Linked DNA regions of Homo sapiens: region 1 is linked to region 2. Evidence: promoter capture Hi-C in 16 types of primary human blood cells and fetal thymus (Javierre and others, 2016). All regions are on one chromosome and are shown on one strand. The core of a region is centred on a gene start or on the middle of the fragment in contact, and the rest is flanking DNA. Distances in the headings are between cores, read along the strand shown.

Region 1 (5,380 bases), core at 1,499-3,998, 380 kb before region 2:
GAGCAAACAGGGAACTGCACCCCAAGGAACCCCCAGAAATAGGGCCATCGGACCTCTTCAGGGGAGTCTAACATCACAGGCAGTAGAGCTTTTATCCTATTTTCGTTTGACTAGTTAAAAGGAATGTGACCTTATTTTGCAGTCATAGGCTGGTGAAGCCCAAAACATTCAAGATAAGTGAATATGCCTGCAAAGTTTCCCCAAATAGCCAGGAAATTAGCACCCCCCAAAATAGCTGTGTGAGAGCGACGAGCAGGGCATAGCCTTGCTGCCTCCTTTCCTCCTCCTCCATTTCTGTCTTCTTCTCTCCCTCTTTCCCTCATCTGCCATTTTCTTCTCTTTTCTCTTGCTCCATTCCTCTTTTTTCTTCTTTCTGTCCTACATCCCTTCCTTCCACCTTCCAGACCCTCTCCTCTCCTCTCTCCCCATTTCGCAGGCTCCAAGCCCACAGCATACATTTCCCAACGGCCCCAGCAATTTCCCTGCAGGAGTCCCTTCCTGTCTTCACTTCTCTGTGGGTGCTGGCTGAGCAGCTAGCAGCGTGGCCTAGGGCTACCCATCAGGAAAGCTTCTGTGGGCACATGCTGAGGAGGGAGGTGCCCTGCAAGGACAGCTCCTCTTATTTTAAAAATGAGGTCGTAACATTCTTTCATTCCACTAACACCCCTGGCTAGGGCTTAGAGTGCCTACTGTGTGCCAGCTCACTGCTGCTGGGGAGCAGAAAGCTATGGTGAAAATATGTCCAGGAAGGTATGCTGTGCAGAAGGGAGACATCCAACCCTTTAGGGGGTTGAGAGCAGGGACAATTTATCCTAGGAGAGGGTGACCATATATTGTCATTCATTGTCCAGCTCAGGACACATTTGAGAGTGGTGATTTCACAGGGGCATCACCCTAGAAGATTGTTCAGGGGGTCCCCATTTGGAAGATAATGATACTGCAATTCAGACAAAGTGAACAGCATGAGGGGCTGCAAAACACTTTACAGGTTTTGGGTCATGCCTGTCATCAGGTGCAGCTGATGTGAGTTTGGAGAGATGATGGGATGGGAGACTGGACAAGTCAGTTTGGAGTCCATCTTTAAAAAGTCTTGAATGTGAAGCCAAGAGTTGTCTTTATTCCTCAAGGATTAAATACAATGATTTTTTTTTAATTTTTACTATTACATCAACCGGACCATAAAAAGGATATAAAAGAAAAAGGCAAAAAAAAAGCACACATCATATCAATAGATGGCAAAAAGTATTTCATAAAATCTAATATTTACTACTAATGATGAAAAAAATACTGTGGGGACTAAGATTAGAAGAATGCTTTCGTGAGATACTAAAATATCTATCCAAAAATAGCAATCAACAGGAAACACTGCAGTTGTTACCATTAAAATAAGGACTAAGACAAGAACACAGCCGGTCCTATTGTTGTGAAACATTGTTCTGAAGGGCTTGGTCAATGCCATAAGGCCTGGTAACAAATCGGATGCAAAATTATAAGAGAGAAGATGACAAAACTATACTCATTTTCAGGCAATATGATTTTCTACCTGGAAAAAAAATCCATTCAAGTTTAATAAAGTTGATTGTTCTATAAAGAATATATAAATATCAATAACATTCCTAAATATCATCTATAATTAGAAAATATGATGGGAAAATATGCTATACACATTTCATATGAATATATGTATATATAGGTATGTGAATGTGTATATATGAAAATAAACTTAGTAAGAAATATGTAAGTCCTATAAGAAAAAAATGCTAACATTCATTGAGAAAGTCAGGGGAAGACTTTATTTATTTATTTAGAGACAGGGTCTCGCTCTGTAACCCAGGCTAGAGTGCAGTGGCACCATCATAGCTCACTGCAGCCTCAAACTCCTGGCCTCAAATGATCCACCTGCCTCAACCTCCCAAAGTGCTGGGATTACAGGCATGAGCCACTGTGCCCAGCCAGAAGATTTTAATAATTAGAAATATAGGGCATTTCCTTGAGGCAGAAGATTATATTATAAAGATGTCTAATCCCAATAGAAATCATAACCAAATTTTATAACACTTATTTTTAAAGTTTGTACAATGAAAAATGAGTAAAGAAAAAAAACAAGATAATATCCGAAATACAAAAGCACTGAGAGGTAACTGAGCTTATAATGTATCAATATGCCCTGCAAAGCTTCAATACTTAAAACAGTGCACTGTCAATGTGAGAAACGACAAATCAATGGAAAGTCCTGAAATGGCTGACTGTGCACATAAGTAACAAAGCAAAATATCTACATTTTCTGTCAAACTCTGGTGGGATTTTTGGAAGCTACAAAAATGCCAAAATGGCAGGCAGCTCCAAGTGATGGAGACTTAAACCTGACCACTATGTTAAGGCTGGCTGGTTTTTCCTTCTGGCATAATTTCCTGAAATGACCCTTCAGTCAAGTAAGCACCAAGTCAATACTGGGGGACAAGATGTGTAAAACACCAGTGTGGCAGAAACAATGGCATCCATCAAACATCCATCAGCCTCCTGCTCATCCCCACCACCACCTCCTTGCCAGCTGCCTTATTGCCGGCCAGAGCCATGTGACCAGCTCTGGCCGGGGCTATGGCAGAGAGTGACAGGTGCTACTTTCAGCCTAAAACCTAGAAGAGCCTGGTGTGACCTTCCAGATGTCTCTTCCCCTGCCATGGCAACCAAGGAAGCAAGTATTTAAGAGAATGCCGTCCGTCACACAGTAACAAAGCCTCCGTGACTCGCTCCCTGTGTGGAGTGGAGTCTCCTGCTGACCCTTAATGGACAGGCAGTGTGAAGGAAAAATGAACCCTTGTTGTGATAGGCCACTAAAATACTGGGATTTATGAGTGACTGTAGGAGAACCCAGCTTATTCTAGAACCCAGCTTATTCTGACTAACACCACCAGTCATCTGGATGTTGGCATTTCAGAGCACAGGTTCCAGCACATGCTGCACAACAGAATCATCTGGGAGCTTTTTGAAAATGCCAGTTCCTGGGCCAACCCTTTAAGAGCTTCTGACTCTGTCGCTCTGAGTGTGGCTCGGACATCAGTCATTTCAAGTGTTCCCCAGGTGATTAATTGTACTGTGCAGCCGCAGTTGAAAAACCGCAGCTGCCTTTCTTAAGAAGCTCTGTGTCGTGTCGGGTAATGTTACATGTGGTTCGTGTTTGAGTGAGCATCTGCTCTGCAGACTTGGTTCTTCCCAGGCACCAAGAAGCATTCCTGTGTTTTCCACTGGATTGGCACTGTCCTGGGCTTGCATACAGTTGCTGGTGCTTGAGAAGCTGTGTGTGTGCCTTTACGAAGCTTAGATAACAGGCAATCTGAGGCTGGGGAAACGCCATCTTTGCCCTGTGTTAGAGGCACTTCTATAAATAGGCAAGCAGAGCCTGCAGGTGGGAAATTCAACCTGGAATGTGCAGTCAATGTCCTGCACACCAAGCATTCAAAACTAAGACCCTCTTGGCTTTTGGAGGCAGGCTGATCTCACATTCCTGTATTCTGATGCCACGTCCCTACTGGGGTCAGGAGAGGAGCCGACACTGTGGGCGGGATTTCTGTTGAAGACAGTGACCGTTTCTGCTGTCACCATCAGCCTGGGACCAGGGTGTCAGGCATGGAGTCTGGATTCTAGGGACTGCAGACGGCTTATGAGGCTCTCACACTGCGAAGTGAGGCCCACGGCCTGAGAGAGGCCCAGTGCTAGGCAAGGAGACCATCACATCAAATCACAACTCTCTGTTGTGAAACTTGATCCTGAAAGTTTTGTATAGTCTCATCAAAATTTACAAGCTGGTTTCTGCGCCACTTTGGAAATTAAGGGGCCCTGTGCTTGCGATGGAATCATAAAGGATGTCTCCTCTCTTGTCCCCACCCCAGGCCTGCACAGTGGCAGCAGCTGTGGCCAGAGGGACACCAGTGGACACAGAGGCCCAGGGAGAGGAGCAGAGGCCAGCAGGAAACAGCAAATGCAGAGGCCCAAAGTGACCAGGACACCGTCCTTGTGCACATCCTGGGAGGAGCCGACGTCTAAAGAAGGGCTGAAGCCTGAAAATCTGGCATGACTAGAGCTCAAAGTCATGGCTGCTTGGGGCACTGTTAGAAATGTGCCTCCTTGTGTTCTCCCAGTGATGTGATAAAGGTGGCATCTCACTGAAAAGGACCAGGGTTAGGAGGGCTCAGGAGCTATGGGGTGGCCCAGGGACAGAGAGCTGCTCATCAAAATCAGTGTCAAAGCTGCATGTGCAGCCCTGGTGCTCGGGGGGCTCTGGTGCAGGGTGTGCTGTGGCGTTCCTCGACGACGATGTTGCTTTACTGGGGGAAGTATCCTGGTACTGGCAGGGTCAGAAGAGGGTAGTGAGGAGTGTGGTGCTTCTGGGAGCCATGTGAATTGAAGTGGAATAATTAGCCAGGCATGGTGGAGGGTGCCTGTAATCCTAGCTACTCAGGAGGCTGAGGCAGGAGAATCACTTAAACCTGCGCAGAGGCTGCAGTGAGCTGAGATCACACCGCTGCACTCCAGCCTGAGCGACAAGAGTGAAACTCGGTCTCAAAAAAGATATAGATAGATATAGATAGATACAGATGATAGATAGATAGATATCTGAAAGATTCACAGAGAGTAAATGACAGTGTCCAAACAAAAAGTGTCCTTTCCGCCCTTGCACAGTGCCGCCCCCATTCCAAAAACTCCCTTTCCACTGACCTGCTGCCTGTGTGCATTGTAATCCAGCTCACTCTCTCCCACTCAGAGCTGCCAGGCAGGGCTACAAACACAGGGCACGAAGCTGCCGTCCTCCCTACCTGGCCAGTGGCAAACATCACTAAACCCAGCCACCCTTCCCACCAAACCTGCCCGAGGCCTTGGGCTTCTTCCCATCACAGCGGTCCACACAGCCACCGCCTGCCAGTCAGCATTAGTTACAGCCACCTGACGCTTGTCTTCAAATCCAAGAGAGAGGTGCAGGTCAACTGTGACCCTGGGGCCGAGGCCAAGTCAACCACACCCATTTGTTTGGGTATCACCTATGCTGTGCTCATACTGCAAAGGCCAAGTTGAGCAGTTGAGACAGAGACTGTGTGGCCCACAAAGCCTAAGATATTGACCACCTGGCCCTTTACAGGAAAAGCCTGCCAACCCCAGTTAGAAGCAAAGCATGCTCAAATTTGTATTTTTTTTCCCAGAATAAGATTGTCATTAAACTTATAAATAGGGTTTCTTAACCTATTCACACAGTGAAATGCAGACAGCCCGAGAGTTGTTATCTAAACTAAAAAAGAAGAGAATGGGAAAACCTAATTATCCTGGATGTCACATGCTGACTCCAGGGGTGACTATACTTTAGTTGACTCAACCTTGGTTTGGAAAC
Region 2 (5,329 bases), core at 1-2,500:
GAAGTAGGTGAAGCCAGGAGGGGCTGGTAGGTTGGGCGAAGAGGAAGGTATCAAGGGACTGGAGGAAGAGCAATACATAGTGGGACTGTGAAGGTGGAAAGGACTGCAGAGTCGGGTCTGACAGGGGGGCACCTGAGCTTCGGATTTCCAAGATGGAGCAGTTCTGAGGGATGACACAGCCCAGGCTTTGGCCCTGAGACCTGATGGCTGAGGTGGAGTGGAAGGTCACTGGAGATGAGATGGAGGAAGTAGGTGACCCTGTACTACACAAATTCCCTAGAGGACAGACAGGTTGAGGGTGGAGAGGAAGCCAGAAGTGAGCTTCCAGGAATTGAATGAAAGGGCCCAGGAGATTGGACAATGAGGAGGTGTGCGGGCCTCAGAGGGCAGGGGGCACACAAAGACTAACCAAGGGGAGGAAGCTGACCGCAACCGCCCCGAGGACAAGACGGGCGTCCTCGGTACAGGGCCATGTTTAGTGACGGCAGAAGGGAGAAAGGAAGCTCCTGGGAGCACAGGGGGAAGGGGAGCCGGAAGCCAGAGCCAGGGCTGGGGCCACGAAGGACAGACGGCCGGTGTTGGAGGCGGAGGCTGGCCTGGGATGTGAGGCTGGGGTTGGCCGGCCTCCAGGCTCCCCGGGAGCCCCTGCTGAAAGTCTGTGGGCGCTGGCCTGGGCGAAGCCGCGGTCCCCCGCCTGTGGGCTCAACTCTGCGCTCTGCTTCAAGCAAACGCACTAGGAGAGGAGTCAGGAGACGAGGAACTGCGGGGCCCCACCTCGCGCGGGCAACCGCTGTCTGTCCAGGGAGGGCCCAGGCCTGTCTCCGCAGATAGCTTTGAAGCAGGGCCCCCGGTGTGGCCCTCTGGAGGCCTCCCGCGTCCCCTTTTGAGGGGCTGCCCTGCTTGGCCTGGGGAACACAGCGAAGGGCACCTCGTGGAGCCCAATTTAGGGACAACACATTAATTCTGGAAATTCCAGATTCTTTCCGGGGGTCCTCAACCGGCCGGGGTCGGAAAGGCCTGGCAGGGCTCCGCCGGCAGGGGGCGCTCGGGACAGGGGGGCGAGGGGGGCGGACATCCGTTGCGGGGCGCTGCCTGCGCCGGGCCGGCCAGCCCTTGAGGCGAGCACGGCCTGCGGGGCCGATGAGGCCGGGGCCGGCCGGGGCGGGGCGGGGCCAGGGGCGGGGGAAGGAGTCCGAGGGGCGGGGCGGGGGCCGGCAGCCGCCCTCCCTCACTCTCCCTCCCTTTCTTTCTTTCTTTCTTTCTCTCCTTCTAGCTCTCTTGTCTTTTCTTTGCCTCTGCAGCGGCCAAGGGGGCGGGCCCTGCAGCCTTTGTTGCCCGCGGACCGAGCGCAGCCGAACGGAGTCGGGGCCGGGTCGCCGGGAGCTGCACGCCGGCCGGGCATGTCCTGAGCCGGACCTGGGACCAGGCAGCGACCGGACGGGACGGACGAGAGCGTGCGCGCGGGGTCACCCGGCGGCCGCCCGGTTCCTGCCATGCCCGGCGGCCCCAGTCCCCGCAGCCCCGCGCCTTTGCTGCGCCCCCTCCTCCTGCTCCTCTGCGCTCTGGCTCCCGGCGCCCCCGGACCCGCACCAGGTGGGTGTCCGCCCCTCCCCGGCCAGCCGGGCCTGCCACCCCTTCCCGCTCCCCCAGTCTCGGTTTTGTCCCTCCTCACCTTTGTGGACCCCGCGCCGGCTCCGCTGTGCCTGGAGTTGGTCGCGTCTTCCGCTCCCTGGGTATTAGGGGACAGTAGTCGGGGTCGGGCCGGGCCGGGAGCGAAGCCGCGCTTCTGGGGAAACTTCCTCGGCCCCTGATTCAGTTACTGACACTGCCTGTCGCCTGGAATAAGCCCCTTCCGCTCTTCGGGCTCCGGTTTCCCCACCTCGGGTGCAGCAACGCGCCTGGCTCCCGGGAGAGCTCTCGTCCGAGTGGGCTGGACGGAGCGCGGTTTACCCACTGAGGATTTGGTTTCTCACACTCCTTAGCGAGGCTCGCCTGGAAAGCGGGCTGGCCGGGACACAGCCGGCGAGGGCGCCAGGTCGCAGGTCTTCGCGGGACCCCGCCGCCCCCCCAGCTCCCGCCCACCGCATCTGGGCTGCTGGCGCGGCCCCTGGCGGCTCGGGGGGCCGGGTCTTGCGCGGTCCTTGCACTTCCTGCCTCTCCCTTCCCCAAGTGTGAAGACGCCGGGAGTGGAGCGGGGAGCAGGAGCTTCTTTTCCCGGCCATGGGTTAACTCTCCCCGCCCCGCCGGGCCGGCCTCCGACGAGCCTCTGGCCTGCGTCCAGACTCTTGTTTGGCGGCGACCTGCCGGGCGGCCGCGCTGCTGGCGCGTCCGACGCAGCCGGCCTGGGAATTCAGTAACCGAGGATGTAGGAGACCCCAGGCCCGGTGCTCAGGGAGCTCCCAGTCAGGGGAGCCGGTGGATAGTGGGGAGAGTCCTGCAATAGAGCCGACCGGCAGGCTTTGTAGGAGAGGAGGGGCATGAGGTTGGAGAGACTGGAAGGATGGATGGATTCTGGATGAGCTAGAAGGGCGTGGAGGGAGTGGGGCCCTCCCCTGGGGAGCATCAGTCGGGGGACTGGATTAGGGTTGCTTGCTGGGATGGGGTCGACCTGCCTCCCCACTGGAGGGATTGTGACGAGAAAGTAGTCTGGGCGGGAAGGATGGGGACATTGACTCTTGATCTTAGAGGTTTGGGAAGCCGTTGAGGGGAGCAGCTGATGAAAGCAGTGTTTTGGAAAGATTTGGTCTAGCAGCCATGCGCAGAGCGCAGAGGGAGCGAACATTTAATGAGCACCTACTGTGTGCCAGCCTCACGGGTTCTTATTTCTCATCATCTCCACAACAACCGTGCAAAGCAAGTGATGGAAAGTCCTTTTATGGACCAGCAAACAGGCTCAGAGTAGAGCGACCTGTGGGGTTGGACTCCTGAGCTTCCTGAATGAGGCTTGTGTTTTCCACTGTCCAGAGCTGGGGGCTGAGGAGGATGAACCGGGCGATGGGAATGGGAGAGCAGGAAAATGCTTCCCTCAGGACTTGGGTCCTGGCCCCCTGGCAGCTGTGGGAAGAGTTGGGTGCGGTCAACCTCGTGGGATTCTTATGAGGATTAAATGAGATATTGAATATGTCAGTTGCTCAGGCAGGACACAGTGACTACAATGTAGTGGTCATTATTTTTATTAATCTGCCAGGCCGACCCAGGACTCCCCAGATGACCTGGACCTGCTGTTTGAGGGTGGAGGCAGGCCAGGCACTCTCTCCAACCTAATCTGGGCACAAACACTCCAAGGGTGAAGTCTGTCTCTAGTGTTCCCATAGATATAGAGCATGGGGTCCTTCCTGTTCTGCACTCCCTCAGGATTGGTGACTCTGAGGCTGCTGGCCTGTTTGTCATTTTCTTTGAAGCCCAGGACCTAAGCCTGGGGCTCCTCCTACCACTGAATGTTACCTTCTTTAAGACCAAAGGGCTCATCCTGGGCTCACTTTTAGGAAAATATATCCCTTTTCCCCACTTGTGACTGACCCAGGGACCTGCTAGGGTTTCTGAGGCTGGAGCCCAGTCATGTGTCCTCCTCATGCCGTATGGCACATGTGAACTCTGTGTGCATGTGTTTCTGTGCATACTAGAACTCACAGAGGAGGGCATTCACATACTACCCCCCACCCTGCCAGTTATTTTTCCTCCTTGGCATGAGCTGTGGGTCATTTGAAGGGCTGGATTGTAACTCAGGTTCTTGATAGGGAGGTGAGGGTAAACACCATCTTGGCATTTCTTTGGTAGAAGCTCCAAAGTGACAGTTCTGTCACCCAGGGGAGATATTAAAAGTATTTAACACCCAATGTGGCAGGAGCTTGGTCCAATCAGAACAGACCTCCTGACTTGGCAGAATAGATTTGGCCATGAATCTCTGGCAGTCCTCTTGAATGGTGCCTGTTGCCATCCCACTGTCACTTGAACTCTGCAGGCTCAGCTTTGTTGCAAGCACATAACCGGTCGAGACTGGAACCTGCAATTACTCCTTGCTGGCACTGGGTGGTGCTAGTTTCAGCCACCAACATCTCTACTGAGTGAGGTCAACTAGGCTACAGTGAAAGTTACTTATTTTTAAACTTACCCCTGCACTTTTTAAAAATATTTTAATGGCAAAACAATACAAGTTCACTATAAAAAAAGGTAATGCTGGCGGGCTGCAGTGGCTCATGCTTGTAATCCCAGCACTTTGGGAAGCTGAGGCTGGCGGATCACTTGAGGCCAGGAGTTCGAAACCAGCCTGGCCAACATGGTGAAACTCCATCTCTATTAAAATACAAAAATTAGCTGGACATGGTGGTGCATGCCTGTAATCCCAGCTCCTCGGAAGGCTGAGGCATGAGAATTGCTTGAACCCAGGAGGCAGAGGTTGCGGTGAGCCGAGATCGCACCACTGCATTCTAGCCTGGGTGACACAGGGAGACTGTCTCAAAAGAAAAAATCTGAACAAAACAAGAAAAAAATTATTGCAATAAAAGTGGCAACATCCTGTAAGTCTATTCTTTTATTGTTGATTGAAAAACATGTTTTAGACCAGACACAGTGATTCACACCTGTAATTCCAGCACTTTGGGAGGCCAAGGTAGGCAGATCGTTTGAGCCCAGAAATTCAAGACCAGCCTGGGCAGCATAATGAGACCCCATCTCTACAAAAAAATTTAAAAATTATCCAGGCCTGGTAGTCCACGCCTGTAGTCCCAGCTATTTGGGAGGCTGAGGTGGGAGGATTGCATGAGCCCAGGAGGTCAAGGCTGCAGTAAACCACGATCGCATCACTGCACTCCAGCCTGGGAGATCTCAGAAAAAAAAAAAAGAAATAAATAAATAAAAACATGTTTTTTGTTTTGTTTTGTTTTGTTTGTTTTTAAGCCATTAGGCAAACAGATAAAACAACAAGTTTTTAAAAGAAAAAGCTAAATATACTTTAGAAGTTCTCTTGCTAATTTTCAGTCATAACTTAGCTCACATTTGCTATGTGCCAGCTGTTGTTATAAGCACTTACATACTAACTCATTTAATTCTTACACAACCAAAGAGAGCAGCTGTAATTATTATCATCCCCATTTTACAGATGGAGAAACTGAGATTCTGAGTGGTTGAGTAATTTACCCATGGTCTCACAGATATGGGTAGCAGAGCTGGGATTCAAACACAGCCTCTCTGGCTCTAGAGCTCACTAATCCGAATGCTTTTCACCTGCGGCATAGCTCTACTTAGCCCTGTCCACATTTTTGAACTTAATAGGATGCTTCTTTGTAAGTCATCTGGAATTTCTGTCTTGCAATATTTGCCCAGGATCTAC

What was found. The method cuts DNA at HindIII sites, captures the fragments that hold promoters and counts their contacts. A CHiCAGO score of 5 or more calls a contact.
Region 1: a fragment that was not itself captured here is called in contact with the fragment with the promoter of ADAMTS7 in region 2 in 1 of 17 cell types (total B cells); the score reaches 5.3 in total B cells.

The regions. Positions count from the first base shown.
Region 1 is chr15:79,190,613-79,195,992 of GRCh38, reverse strand. ANKRD34C-AS1 (ANKRD34C antisense RNA 1) reads left to right here. Exons shown (of 2, transcript NR_038997.1): 2 at 3,891-4,286. Among named protein-coding and RNA genes, the nearest start is that of MIR184, 16 kb to the left of the region's middle. The HindIII fragment of the contact is 1,142 bases long and covers 2,178-3,319 here.
Region 2 is chr15:78,807,385-78,812,713 of GRCh38, reverse strand. ADAMTS7 (ADAM metallopeptidase with thrombospondin type 1 motif 7) reads left to right here and starts at 1,250. Exons shown (of 24, transcript NM_014272.5): 1 at 1,250-1,593. The coding sequence starts at 1,494. RefSeq lists a silencer at 803-1,222. The HindIII fragment of the contact is 7,795 bases long and covers 1-5,329 here.